Linked DNA regions of Homo sapiens: region 2 is linked to region 1. The links are contacts of gene promoters, found by promoter capture Hi-C in human tissues and cell types (Jung and others, 2019). All regions are on one chromosome and are shown on one strand. The core of a region is centred on a gene start or on the middle of the fragment in contact, and the rest is flanking DNA. Distances in the headings are between cores, read along the strand shown. Region 1 holds the start of OSBPL2 (oxysterol binding protein like 2). Region 2 overlaps LOC105372706 (a long non-coding RNA gene).

Region 1 (6,235 bases), core at 1,159-3,658:
GATGGGCCTGTAAATCACAGGGCACTCGGCCGCCATCACCATCATCATCATCAACATCATCATCCTCATCATCATGGCCCCAGCTCATCCATCTTTGTTGCCTTCTCCACCCCCATCTTCCATCCTTGGAGAACTGTGCCTCTTGAATTGGCCTCGTGACCTAGTAAAGATCATAACAAAGACGCCTAAGTTGGTCTCAAGGCACCCTCCTTACTACCCACCAACTGAGGGAGGATTCTCGCCTAGTCCCAGCAACTGGCCCCGGGGAGGAAGTACCCTTCCCAGTCCTGGCACGTCTCCAGCAGTGCTGGCTGACGGCAGACTACCCTTGAAGCTCAGTTACTGCATTTGTGGAGAGGGGTGAAACCCCTGCTCCAGCCCAGGGGCCATCTGAGATCACACCCCCAACCCCAAGGCCAGGGTGGATCTCCCTGCTTGGCCCTGGGGTGGTCCCTGGGCAGATGAGAGGGTCCTTCTGCCTGAGCCTCTGAGGCTGCCCTCACTGCAGAGCTCGTGGTCAAGGGGTGGGTGGGCAGGTTGGATCCCCTCAAGGGCACAGGGGTTAGAGTCTTAGAGACTTAGGGTGAGGGACATGGAGAGTGATGGGTTTCTGGGACCCTGAGCTGGCCCTGGCAAGGCCCACAGGGAAAGCTGTGGAGCGCAGTCATCTCCGTGGCAACTGGCCTCATCGTCCTTGTCCTGGCTTGGGGGCCGCACGCCTTCCCTTCCCTTTCACCGGCTGGAGTCGCTTTCTTCAGAGGTAACCATGGCAACCCCTTTGTTTCTGAGGCCTGCCCGCCCTCCTCCCCGTTCTCTCTTCAGGAGAGGCTCAGCCAGCTCCTTCCTGGTCCCGGCACGTCTCTAGTGGCGCCGACTGACAGTGGCCCACCAGTGAGTGGGGCCAGCCCCTGGGGTGGGGGAGAACGGCCCTGCTGGGCCCAGAGATGTGGCCTGGGCCCCACCCCTGCCACAGAGGCCACGTTCATTGGCTCACTCATGCCCTGAAATTTATAGAGAGTACCCACGTCTGCCACGGGGCCACAGATGGGGCAAAGGCCTGTCCCTGCCTCCATGGCCCTGCTAGGGGCAGCCTGGAAGTGGGGAGACAAGGCCTGAGGAGGGGGTGCAGAGGCCCAACGGGGGCTGGCTTTGCTGCAGGACGCACTGCGGGGTCACGGGTCATCTGCCAGAGCTCTCAAGGCCACAGGAAGCCCAGGACTCTTGGCTTTACCTCAAATGGGCTGAAGCAGAAACAAGCATGTGGTTCACGTAACTGAAAAGTCAAGGAAAGGACCTGCTGAGGTGCAGCAGGGTCCACGTGACCCGGCCGTGGTTGCTCCGGCTTTCCTCTGGGCTGGCTTCATTCTCGTGCAGCCCTGTTCTCGGGTAGTGAGATGTGGAAGACTGGCCCCTTCCCTCTCTCACCTAACCCAGCTCTGGAGAGGTCTGTGGGCAGATGGGAGAGTCATTTGACTTCAGCCTCCCCTCCGGTCTGAACTCTGACCCTACAGCAAAAGTCCCAGGACTGAGCCTCTTTGGCTAGAACTGGGTCACAGGCTGACCCCTAAACCAACTGCTGTGACTATGTAGCCAGCCTGGTTTATGCCACTCCACTCACCTCAAACCAGACCCATGACTTCAATGAGATGTTGACAGGGGAACCCTGGTTTGCAGATGAAACTGAGTGATCACAGACTCAGAGAGGTTAATTAATTTGTCCAAATCCACACAGCTGGTAAAGAATGCAAGCTCCAGGTCTGATTCCAGAACTTCTGGGCTTAACCCTGGAGCCACTGTAGGTCAGTGGGAGTCCAAAGGGTTTTAAGTATGGTGGTGAAACGGTCGGGGATGCAGCTGGAGGGGTAAATTGGCGCTGGATTTTGGTTGGCGGTGAATGGCATGCAAAGGAGGTGGACGATATTCAGGATTTGGTAGGACAGTGGAAGCAGCTACGCCCCAGCTATCGCACGGTCCCCAGCATTTGTAGGAAAAAGCCCCCAGGGCTTTGGGTAGCCTCGCAGGCCCGCACTGCCGCCAGGACGCAGTGCACCTGAGGGCGGAGCACCCACGCCCCGGGCCACCTGACTCACTGTTTGTCAACTCTGCTCTCTGCAGCCACGCCCTTTCCTCCTTGCCTCCCTCCCCTTTTGGCTCAGGGGCGGCATAACCCCGCCTCTCTCCTGCTGTGACTGGCTGTCCTTGCCGTCACTCCGCTGCGTGGGCGGGGCTCTGAGGGGGCACAGGTAGAGGCCCTTCGCGAAGGGATTAGCATAGTCCCACCCCCCGGCGCGAGCCTCGGGCCGGGCGCTGATTGGGCAGGCAGCGGCCGACGCGGCGGCGCCGGGCGCAGCGAGTGGCGGGCGCGGGCTGTCAGTCGGCGAGGCGGCGGGCCGCACTTCCGCCTCGGTGTCAGTGGGTCGCGGGCCTACGGGGCGGGGGCGGGGCGGCAGTGAGCTCGGCCGGCAACCGAGGGACCCGCGTCCAGGTGAGTGGCCCCCGCCGCCGCCACGCGAAGGCCCGGGACCCCGGCGAGCTGCGGGGCCTGGGCCGCGGGCTGGGGCTGGAGCCGGGGCGGGGAGGGGAGGGCGGGCCGGGCAGGACCCGGGTCCGCAGGCCGCCTCCAGCCCCGGCCCCGGCCCCGGCCTCGACCCCCACTGGGAGGCGCGCCCGGCCTAGGCCGCAGCCTGGCGCCCCGGGGAAACTTTGGGAGGAAAGTTCCGGCCGGGCGTGGGGCCTGGGCCTGGGTCCCGCGGCCCCCGCACCCTTCCCCCTGCGGTCGCCCGGCAACTGCGATCCCGGGACCCCCGGCCCGGCCCCCCCGAGATCCCCAGCCCCCCTGCTGCCCCGCTGAGCAGGAAGTGGGGACGGGCGCACCTGCTCGCGGCCTCGCCCTCTCTCACCACCTCACCGGGAACAGGGAAGGATTTCGTGCGCATTTAGGGCGATCCTGTAGGTGAGGAGGGCGAGTTCCGCCGGGAAGAAGGGCAGGGAGACGCAGTCCCACTCCGACCCTGGCCTTCTTGTCCCGCAGGCCTGTGTGCACGTCGTCCCGGGGAGGGTGCCCGCGAGCCCTTGTCCGTTCCCCTGGGCTCTGTTTTTGTTTTTAATTTATAAATCTTAGCAGACTACACACGGTTGAGAACTTGCTACCTAAAACCTATCTTTGGTAATGTAATTTTAAGAGGTTCCTTCTTTCGCCAGTTATATTTTGGTACTCAGAAGAATACGTCTTTAGACTTTCCAAGTTTATAAGCCCAGACCAAGACTGTTAGGTCGTCACAGCACCTCAGCCTCCCCGCTTCATGGGAGGACCGGCGACGAGGCAGTGGGTGTCGGGGTGTTGCAGGCTCTCCTGGGGTGAGGGTCACCTCCCAGGGGCGTTTCTATCTGAACCGTCCTCTAGGACAGGCCCTGGCCTAGCCTGGCTCCGGCAGCTTTGGGATGACTGCCCGGAACACCTGGAGAAGGGGTCCCATTCGGTTTGGTTGGATAGACGTTTCTCGAATGCCTGCTGTGGGCCTGGCTGGGTGCTGTGCGGCCTTCCCACCAGCTGGATGTGTGGTGAGGACAGCGGAGAGTTGAGGAGCCCGGAACTGGTGCAGGGGCCACATGCTGGGAAGCCACGGCCGTCCCTGCTGCCCTTCCTAACTCGTGCCCATGGCCTCTTTTCTGGCTGTCAGCCTCAACTCCTTCATCCGGACATGTAGCACTTTGCTGATAAGAGAAGCAAACGAGATCATTTTCTTGTTTTATGTTTTGAGATGGAGTCTCGCTTTGTTGCCCAGGCTGGAGTGCAGTGGTGCGATCTTGACTCACTGCCACCTCCGTCTCCCGGCTTCAAGCCATTCTCCTGCCTTAGCCTCCCATCTAGCTGGGACCACAGGCGCCGGCCACCACGCCCGCCTAATTTTTTTATTTTTAGTAGAGATGGGGTTTTACCATGTTGGCCAGGCTGGTCTCGAACTCCTAACCTCAAGGGATCCGCCTGCCTCAGCCTCCCAAAGTGCTAGGATTCCAGGTGCGAGCCACCGCGCCCTGCCATGAAATCATTTTCTACCACAGTCTCTGACACCTAGTGCGCACCCCGGAATGCCAGTTACCTTCCCCTTGTTGAGGACAGGAACTTTGTCGGTGGCACTTCCTCCCTGCCCAGCCCAGTGCCTGCCACAGTGTCGTCTTTTAGAATGTGGCAATGAGTGAGTGAGTGACTGAGTCTCCCTCATAGAATTTACCCTGTTTTCTTCATGTGTCCATCTATTAATGACAGCTCTTACCCCAGCAGACGATAATATTTAATAATGATTGTTCCAGGACTGTTACGAGCATGTCGTATTCACTTTCTTTGTGTGATCTTCACAACAGTCCACTGGGCAGGTACTGACATTATCCTTAGTTCATTCATGAGGAAGCTAAGGAACAGAGAGGTTAAGTAACTTACCTAAACCACACAGCAGTAAATTATGAAATATGGATTTGAACCCAGGCTCCAGGGTTCACACTCTTAAACACTACCCTGTACTGCCTTTTAATATCAAGATTTTCATTTAACATTTTCGTTTAGAATATTCTAATCATGCTGCATTACTCTGTGTCAGAATTTCGGGATTTTGCTACATATAGAACTAATAGACTTTCTTTTTTGTGAGCCTGAGTGTTTACAAAGCCATTTCATTTTTTCTGAAATAAAGTAATTTACCGTTTGACCATTCAGGATTTTGCCAGAATACCTTCCCTGCCACCCAGCTCCTTTGTTACTGGCAGATTCAGTGGTGGTCTCTGTGTGAAGAGGGAGGACTGAGGGGCATGGGTGCTGACAGGCGTACAGTCCAGACTCTGAGGTCTCCGTTCTGAGTTCAGTTCCAGGGGACTTCACACACTGCCTTAGAGTACACACGTAGGACATTTTTCTTCCACGCCTCGAGTGCGTTGAGAGGGTCAGACTCTGCTGTGTTCCACATGTTAATGAGAGGTGCTGTTTGAATGTGAAAAAAATGCCACTTGACTTTCATCCCAGTGTCTCTCCTCTGTGCCGTCCAGGAGATGCCAGCAGATGGGTCTTGGAATTTTTTTTTTTTTGAGATGGAGTCTCGCTCTGTCGCCCAGGCTGGAGTGCAGTGGCGCGAACTCGGCTCACTGCAAACGCGAACTCAGCTCACTGCAAGCTCTGCCTCCCGGGTTCACACCATTCTCCTGCCTCAGCCTCCCAAGTAGCTGGGACTACAGGCGCCCGCCACCACACCTGGCTAATTTTGGGTCTTGGATTTGTCATTAAAGCTTGCTCGACTTTTAAAGTTTTAGTACATTCAGCCAATTACAAAAGTGACATTTTGTATAAGGGAATTGTTGACACATTTTAGGTTCTTATGCTGTCTTCAAGCAGGGAAGCTGCCATCTCCTCAAGGTGATTTCTTTAATGTCCCCATGCAAGCCATGTCTTGTCTGGCCGTGCAGGCACAGCTGGCGCCGTGCCTTCCTGAGTCACAGCATCTTTGCGAAGGTGGTGCGCCAGACCAGGGCTCTTGGGTCCTGGGTGGGTTCCCACTGGCTCCTGCCTTCAGTGTCTTTGCCTGTAAGACGGATTACTATGTGGAATCTGTGAAAATATAACATCAAGTGTCTGATACGTTGTGGGTGCCTGGGCCGCCCTTGGCTCCAACACCTGCTGAAGCTGGAGCCTCTCAGCAGTGCAGCAGTCACACCCTCAGGTGTCCCGGGATCTTTGGGTGTGGGCTGATTTTCTCCTAGTCATTGTCATACTTCCTGTTTGGGTGTTGACATTTCGTTTAGTGTTTAGCACAGATTGTCAGGTACGAGGTTTAATTCCAATATGTAGTACATTTTCAGGTTGATTTATAACCTTATCTACACTGAAAGGAAGTCAGTATTTGAACATGACTGATTATTAAAAAGGACCGAAGTCCTGAGTTAATATGGTGGGTTCTGGTTTGATAGTTTAAATGCACTTTCCACATATGCTAGTTGATTTGTAAATCTGCTGTCATTTTTGCTTTTTCAGAGTGTTCTTGCTAGTGAGTTTCAGGCATGGTGTCCCGGCCTCTCAGGCTGCTGGTTTGGGCTAGGGTCCCACTGTGGAAGCGTGGTGGTGTCCCGGCCCACCTCTGCAGCTCTTGATAATAAAAGCATCTGTTAAATAGCTCACAGCACTGTTTGCGTGAACTTTTTGGCACTTCTTTCCTTTTCCTTCCAGATTCAGAAAAGAACTTGGGATCATTCA
Region 2 (6,520 bases), core at 3,085-5,584, 140 kb before region 1:
GCCTCTCTCAGGAGCTCTGCCAGCAGGTGTCAGTGGGACCCAGCCGCCTGCATATTCTGCAAAGGTCATTCAGATGATTCTCACAGCCCCCGAGATTGAGACCTCCTGCTCTACAACAAAAGGTGCTCGTGCTCTCAAATCTTTTCCCTCAGGTTTCCCAAAATGAGGGATAATTGAAACACATCATTTGCTCTTCGCATGAGAAGCAAAAGTGAGTAACGTGCTGTACGAGGCTAGAATTAATGAAGAGGCTCATGAATGTAATCTCATACATTAAAACCTTTCCCAAATTCATGTCAATCTGCATTGTAATGTTCATATTTTATAAAATGGGGTGTGGGGTTCAGAAACAGTTTGCAAAATGAATGTCCTGCCTCGATAAGCCAGGCACATTTTTTTTTTTTCAGCTTAAAAAACAGGAAAGCCAGAAGCGGTGACTCACGCCTGTAATCCCAGCACTTTGGGAGGCCGAAGCGGACAGATCACCTGAGGTCAGGAGTTCGAAACCAGACTGGCCAACATGGTGAAACACTGTTTCTACTAAAAATTGGCCAGGCATGGTGGTGAGTGCCTGTAATCCCACTACTTGGGAGGCTGAGGCAGGAGAATCACTTAAACCTGAAAGGCAGAGGTTGCAGTGAGCCAAGATCATGCCATTGCACTCCAGCCTGGGCGACAGAGCGAAACTCCGTCTCGAATAGAATAGAATAGAATAGAATAGAATAGAATAGAATAGAATAGAATAGAACAGAACAAAATAAAATAAAATAAAATAACACAGCAGAGGGAGGTCAGAAGCAGTGGCTCATGCCTGTAATCCCAGCACTTTGAGAGGCTGAGGAAGGAATCACTTGAGACCATGAGTTTAAGACCTGCCTGGGCAACATAGTGAGACCCCTGTCTTTACACAATTAAAAAAAAAATTAGCCAGGCATGATGGTACACACCTGTAGTCCCAGCTACTCAGTAGGATGAAGTGGGAGGATCGCTGTAGGTCAGGAGTTCAAGACTAGCCTAGGCAACATAGCGAGACACAGTCTCCACCAAAAAATTAAAAATTAGCCAAACATGGTGGTGTATGCCTGTTGTCTCAGCTACTCGGGAGGCTGAGGCAGAAGGATTGCTTGAGCCCAGGAGGTGGAGGCTGCAGTGAGCTGTGACCATGCCACTGCATTGCAGCCTGGGGGACAGAGCAAGATGTTGTCTCAAAAAAGACAAAAACCCAAAACCAGACAGAAAGCCTTGCTCTGGAATGGATGAGGGCCAGAATCTGCTCATTAGGAGCCTGGTACTGGGCCTCTATCCTGGACTTGAGTTGCAGGAGAAAGGACCAAAGCACCAAGTTGAAACATAGAACAGGTAATCCGAGACCTCGCCGGACACATGCACATGTCTGCACTCTCACGCGTGGTGCACACGCTGCACACCCTTGCATACACACACATGAGCACGCTCATGCTCACACATGCCCTGGCCCACCGCCCCACCTCGACCTCTCCCTCTGGGACCCCAGTCCTGCCTCCTCTGCTACACCCCCTCCCCACCACACTCACCAGCCCTCCCCTGGGGGCCTGCGGCAGGGACCACAGGGGTTTCCTAAGGTCCCCTCATTCTTCGCCATCTGAGGCCCTCTCAGATCTGCTGGCAGACATTTCGGGGGAAAGAGGAGGGGCCAGGAGCTCCTAGCAGCTCCCCCTCTGCAACCTTGACTGGCTCTGCAGACACCTCCTAGGTGCCACGATGGGCCGGGCACGTTCCAGGCGCCAGGGACACATTCCCACCATGCAGGGAGACAGGAGACAAGCACAGTTGTGCCGGCAGGAGGAGCCAGCAGGGCTGAGAGGGGGAGGACAGGAGCCAGGGAGGGCTTCCCTGAGGTGTCATGGGCACAGACACTGTCAGGCGTGGGGAGGGATGCACTCTGCAGGGGGATCTGCACTGCCCAGGCCAGGAGCCGAGAAGTGGATCCAGGAAGGGCTGGGCCCTGCGGTTACCTGTCACCCAGAATGGCACTGGGCGCCTCTTCTGTCCCCGCCGGCTGTGTGGCCCGAGGCGGGCCCTGGGGCTTGGGTTTCTCATCCATGCAGTAGGGACAGTGTCCCACCTCTGCGTCCCTCATGGGGCATGGCAAGGACCGGGGGAATGGAGGGCCTGCCTGGTCGGATCAGAGAGCAGGGTGGGGGGTGGCGGCGGTCTCAAAGAGGAAGGAAGGCCCCTAGGCTGGGGAAGTCGTGTTGATGCCACCACGGGCACAGCCAAGGACAAAATGCCCTGGGGGCCTCACGGGACCAGACCCTTGGGTCCTCCCACCAGGGGTGGGAGACCATCCTGTCCATGACCACGTCCCACGACATGACTTCAGTTCCCGCCTGTCCTCACACTGGGGACTCCCCCTGCTCACTGCACCCACTGTCCAGTGATGGGTAATTTGAGCCCCAGCAGAACAGTTGTCAAGAGGCTGCTCCGGGAAGGCCACGCAGGCACCACACTCAGGGCAAACGTAGTGGAGTAGGGGGTGGGAGGCGATTGCGGACATGGGCATGAGGGTTCCCAGGAAGAGGGTGGGCATGAGGCAGGCATCTGCATGCTTTTGGGGGGGCATGGCTCTGAAGGGGCAGGTGCAGGTGGGAGAGGGTGTGGGGAGAGAGAATTCTGTGCCCCCATGCAGGGGGATGGGTGTTGCCAGAGGCAGGGTGGGGGCACCGCGGACAGTCGGGCGGAGGGCACATTCCAGGAAGCGTTTTACACACAGGCAGACAGGCCCCACTGCAGGGAAATGGAAGATGGGAAGGGCAGCCCATGGCTTTTCTGGTGTCAGAATGGATTTCTGAAACACAGAGTGAACACAGTCATCCGAAAAGCCCAGGGTTCAATGTGCTGGAGCCCAGATCCGTGGGAGCCCAGGGTGGGGACCTGGGCCTGGGGCTGGGGCTCTTTGGACACTGGCCAGGAGGAAGCAGGAGAGGAGCCAGGTAGGGCCCCGACGGCCTCACGGGCTGCTCAGGACAGACCCTGCAGCCAGGACGAGCGTAGGGCTCCAGCAAAGCTGGACCTGCAGCGTGCCGTTGGGGAGGGGCCTGCCTGGGGTCCACTGTTCCCTCAGTCACAGGCTCCCCAGCGTCCCTTCCCGCACCAGAGTGAACGGCAGGAAAAGATGCTGCAGCGGCGCCCGGCCTGCACCTCCTCCCAGGTGAATCTTGTGGAAAAGGAGATGTAGGCCTAGACAAATCTTTTGTTTTAGAACATTTCCTTCTTGAAAAAAAGAAAAAGAAAAAAGAAACCAAAAAAACCCTTGTCTTCCAGGGAGATCAAAAGGTGATGGTGAAGGAGTCCCGCAAGCTGGGAGTTTAAAAATGGAACAGGCCGGGCGCGGTGGCTCACGCCTATAATCCCAGCACTTTGGGAGGCCGAGGCGGGTGAATCACGAGGTCAGGAGTTCAAGACCAGCCTGGTCAACATGGTGAAACCCCATCTCTACTAAAAATAGAAAAAATTAGCTGGGCACGGTGGTGGGCGCCTGTAATCCCAGTGACTCAGGAGGCTGAGGCAGGAGAACCGCTTGAACCTGGGAGGCGGAGGTTGCAGTGAGCCGAGATTGTACCACTGCACTCCAGCCCAGGTGACAGTGGAGGCTCCATCTCAAAAAAAAAAAAAGAAGAAAAAAGAAAAAAATAGCACAGAACTGGGTCAGGTGGGTTTGTCCTGCCACAGACAGGGTGCTGCTTAGAACCAACCAGCTTTCCCCAGAACTCACCTCCTGCCACTTCATGGTGGAGGGGGTGGCTGCTGGGTTGGACCCAACTCCACCATCTTCCAGCTGGTGAGGATTTCCACGCCATTCCAGGTCACCCCCCGACCTGTTGGGAGCCGGCGTCTTGGACAGGGGAAAGCTGAACAGGGCAGTGAAGAACAGTCTAGAAGCATGTTCTTCACTTCAAGACCCAGGACCCCATGGACATCCTGCCTACAGATCGCCCCACTAGCCCTGCTTCAGTCACTGGGCATCTGGCAGCACTCGATAGGTGCCATGTGGTACTGCCTGCTCTGTGGGTGCAGCTGCCATGCCGAGGCCGTCCCCTCTGTCCTCTCCAGGCTCTCCTGTAACCTCCCAGCTCTGCTCTCCCATGCCCTCCCTCAACCCAGCCCTTCCGTGGGGGCTCCTCCTGGCTCTCCCCGGCCTGTCCCTCCACACCCCCTTTCAGACCCTCACAGCTGCCTCCCCACACCAGCCTTCAGGGGACTCTGCAGCCCACCTCTCTGCCCACTCCTTCCTCCTAGATTCTCACTGAAGCTTCCCCCGCTCTCCCTAGACCCGCAGCTCATACCCCCGGCTACTTATTAGAATGCCTGGCAAGCTTGGATAAAACCCCATACTCAGCCACACCCAGGCCCATTAAACCACACACCTAGAGTTGGCCTGGAAGCCTCGAGGTACATCCAGGGTGCAGCAGGTAGGAGGCCTCAGTCCCAGACCAAGGAAGGAGCCCTTACCATAGAGTGCCCAGCCCCACCCCAGCCCCGATGCTCACCAGCGTGGGGATTGTATGTTGACCCACACTCAATGAGTGTCTGTGGGATCAGTACATCAGTGATGGGGGGATCAGTCCATCAACAGATCAATGAATGAACCAATGACTGGATGATCTGAGTGGCCACTGCTATTGGCTGAGACGGCTTCTCTCAGGTTTGTCCTCACCACCTGCTTGCTGTCTGAGCAGCCCACCCTCCTCCGTGCACCCCTGGACCCACCTCTGCTTCCCATGGGTACACCCTTGCCTCTGATACAGACGGAAATCCTGATGGCGACAGAGCTGACTCTCCTAAGGCATCCTTTGCATCTGCATCAAAACGATCTGAGGCCACAGATGAGGCCACGAAGAGAAGAACGTGGCCCTGCCTGCTCTGGATTCCCAGCCCCACGGCCCTGCTGTCCTGCTGCTGCTTCCCTGCACTTCCTCTGCTCACCCGCCCGGCAGAGGGTGGTCCCCTGGGCCCACGCAGGCCTGAGCAGCGCACTCCTCCAGGCTTTGGGTGTAAGTCGTTCTTGCGGTCAGTTTATCCTGTGTCTGCCTGTTCCCATCCCAAACCTCCCCAGGGACTCTAGAAAGCGTGTCCTGGGCCACCTTTCCACGTGGGGAGCAAGAAAGCCATCAGCCCCATCCTCCCAGGGGCTCTCATGGGCAGCCTGGCCCTGACTCCCCAGGCGGCTGCTCTTCACACTGCTGTCCATGGGCAACGAGCTCCCACACCTCTGTTGGGGTTTGTCCTGAGCGGAACCTGGGTCCCCCGACTGCCCTCCCCGCTCACTCCCTGCACATTCTCTAGGAGTTCACTGAGAAAGGTGCCTGGAGGCCTCCTCAGTCTTAGGGTCCCCCGGGGGACGAGGATGCAGAGTAGCTTCCCACGGGGCTGTGAAGGTTTTGCCCGCTGCCGACATTGTCCACCTGCAGCCACCTGAGAGGCAGTGCCAGTCAGATCACCAGCTCTTTCGTGGGACTGGGACCTGCTCTGCCAAGAGTTGGCTTCATGTCCTGTGTTCAGAAATTTCATGATGCCATGCCGGCCTTCCTTCACTCATTCAACCTGGAGCCTCACGTCCACATTTTAGGATGTTTCCTCATAAATCACTTGCTTGGCGATGCTCTCCATTCTGTTTTCTCTTTCTGGAGCTCTTATTAATGTTTTCTTCCCTATTTTTCATTTCATTTTCTCTACTTTATGAAAAAATTATCTTTTTTTTTTTTGAGACGGAGTCTCTCTCTGTCACCCAGGCTGGAGTACAGTGGCACAATCTCGGCTCATGGCACAATCTCCACCTCCTGGGTTCAAGTGATTCTCCTGACTCAGCCTCCTGAAGAGCTGGGATTACAGGTGCCCACCACCATGCCCAGCTAATATTTGTGTTTTTAGTAGAGACAGCGTTTCACCATGTTGGCCAGGCTGGTCTCGGACTCCTGACCTCAGATGGTCCACCTGCCTTGGTCTCCCAAAGTGCTGAGATTACACATGTGAGCCACCACGCCCCGCCTGAGAAATTTATCTTTTATGGAAGTTTTCATTTGTGCTTTTTTTTTTTCATTTCCAAGAGCTCTTTCTTAATTTCTCACTGTTCCTTTTTTATTACATCCTGTTCTTAGGTCATGGATGTGCTGTTTTCTCTTCTCTCTCCAAGGGTATCAGCAATAAGGTTTTTTCTTTTTTATATTTTTTGTTCCTCAGGTTGCTACTCTTTCCCCCAAGCTCCCTTCTTTGGTGCATGGGGATGTGGGATCTGTCTTTCGTGTGGGGTCTTTTTCTTCTTCAAAGTCCAGTGACCCTTGGGGTCCACGTGTCTTCATGAGAGGCTCAAAAGTGCTGAGGTGGAGCAGTGTGGGTGTAGGGGGATGAGGGGCTGCTCCAGGGTGGACCTCAGAGGGGGAAGCAGCAAGGTCTGAATATGTGGTCAGGGTTCTTAAGAGGCCAGCGCAATTCCACAGAGCCCCCACCTCCCACCCGGGAGACACATCAGGCTGTTGGCACT

Evidence for each region. Contacts are between HindIII fragments. The study calls those that stand out against the background at their distance.
Region 2: a fragment that was not itself captured here is called in contact with the fragment with the promoter of OSBPL2 in region 1 in 2 of the 25 tissues and cell types used here (lymphoblastoid cells and stomach).

Annotation. Positions count from the first base shown.
Region 1 is chr20:62,236,113-62,242,347 of GRCh38, forward strand. It overlaps OSBPL2 (oxysterol binding protein like 2), which reads left to right and starts at 2,409. Exons shown (of 14, transcript NM_144498.4): 1 at 2,409-2,485. LOC105369209 (a long non-coding RNA gene) reads left to right here. Exons shown (of 4, transcript NR_160555.1): 4 at 1-189. RefSeq lists a silencer at 2,137-2,536 and an enhancer at 3,234-4,158. The HindIII fragment of the contact is 10,947 bases long and covers 1-6,235 here.
Region 2 is chr20:62,095,154-62,101,673 of GRCh38, forward strand. LOC105372706 (a long non-coding RNA gene) reads right to left here. Exons shown (of 3, transcript XR_936963.2): 3 at 5,990-6,520. Among named protein-coding and RNA genes, the nearest start is that of LSM14B, 24 kb to the right of the region's middle. The HindIII fragment of the contact is 5,244 bases long and covers 1,713-6,520 here.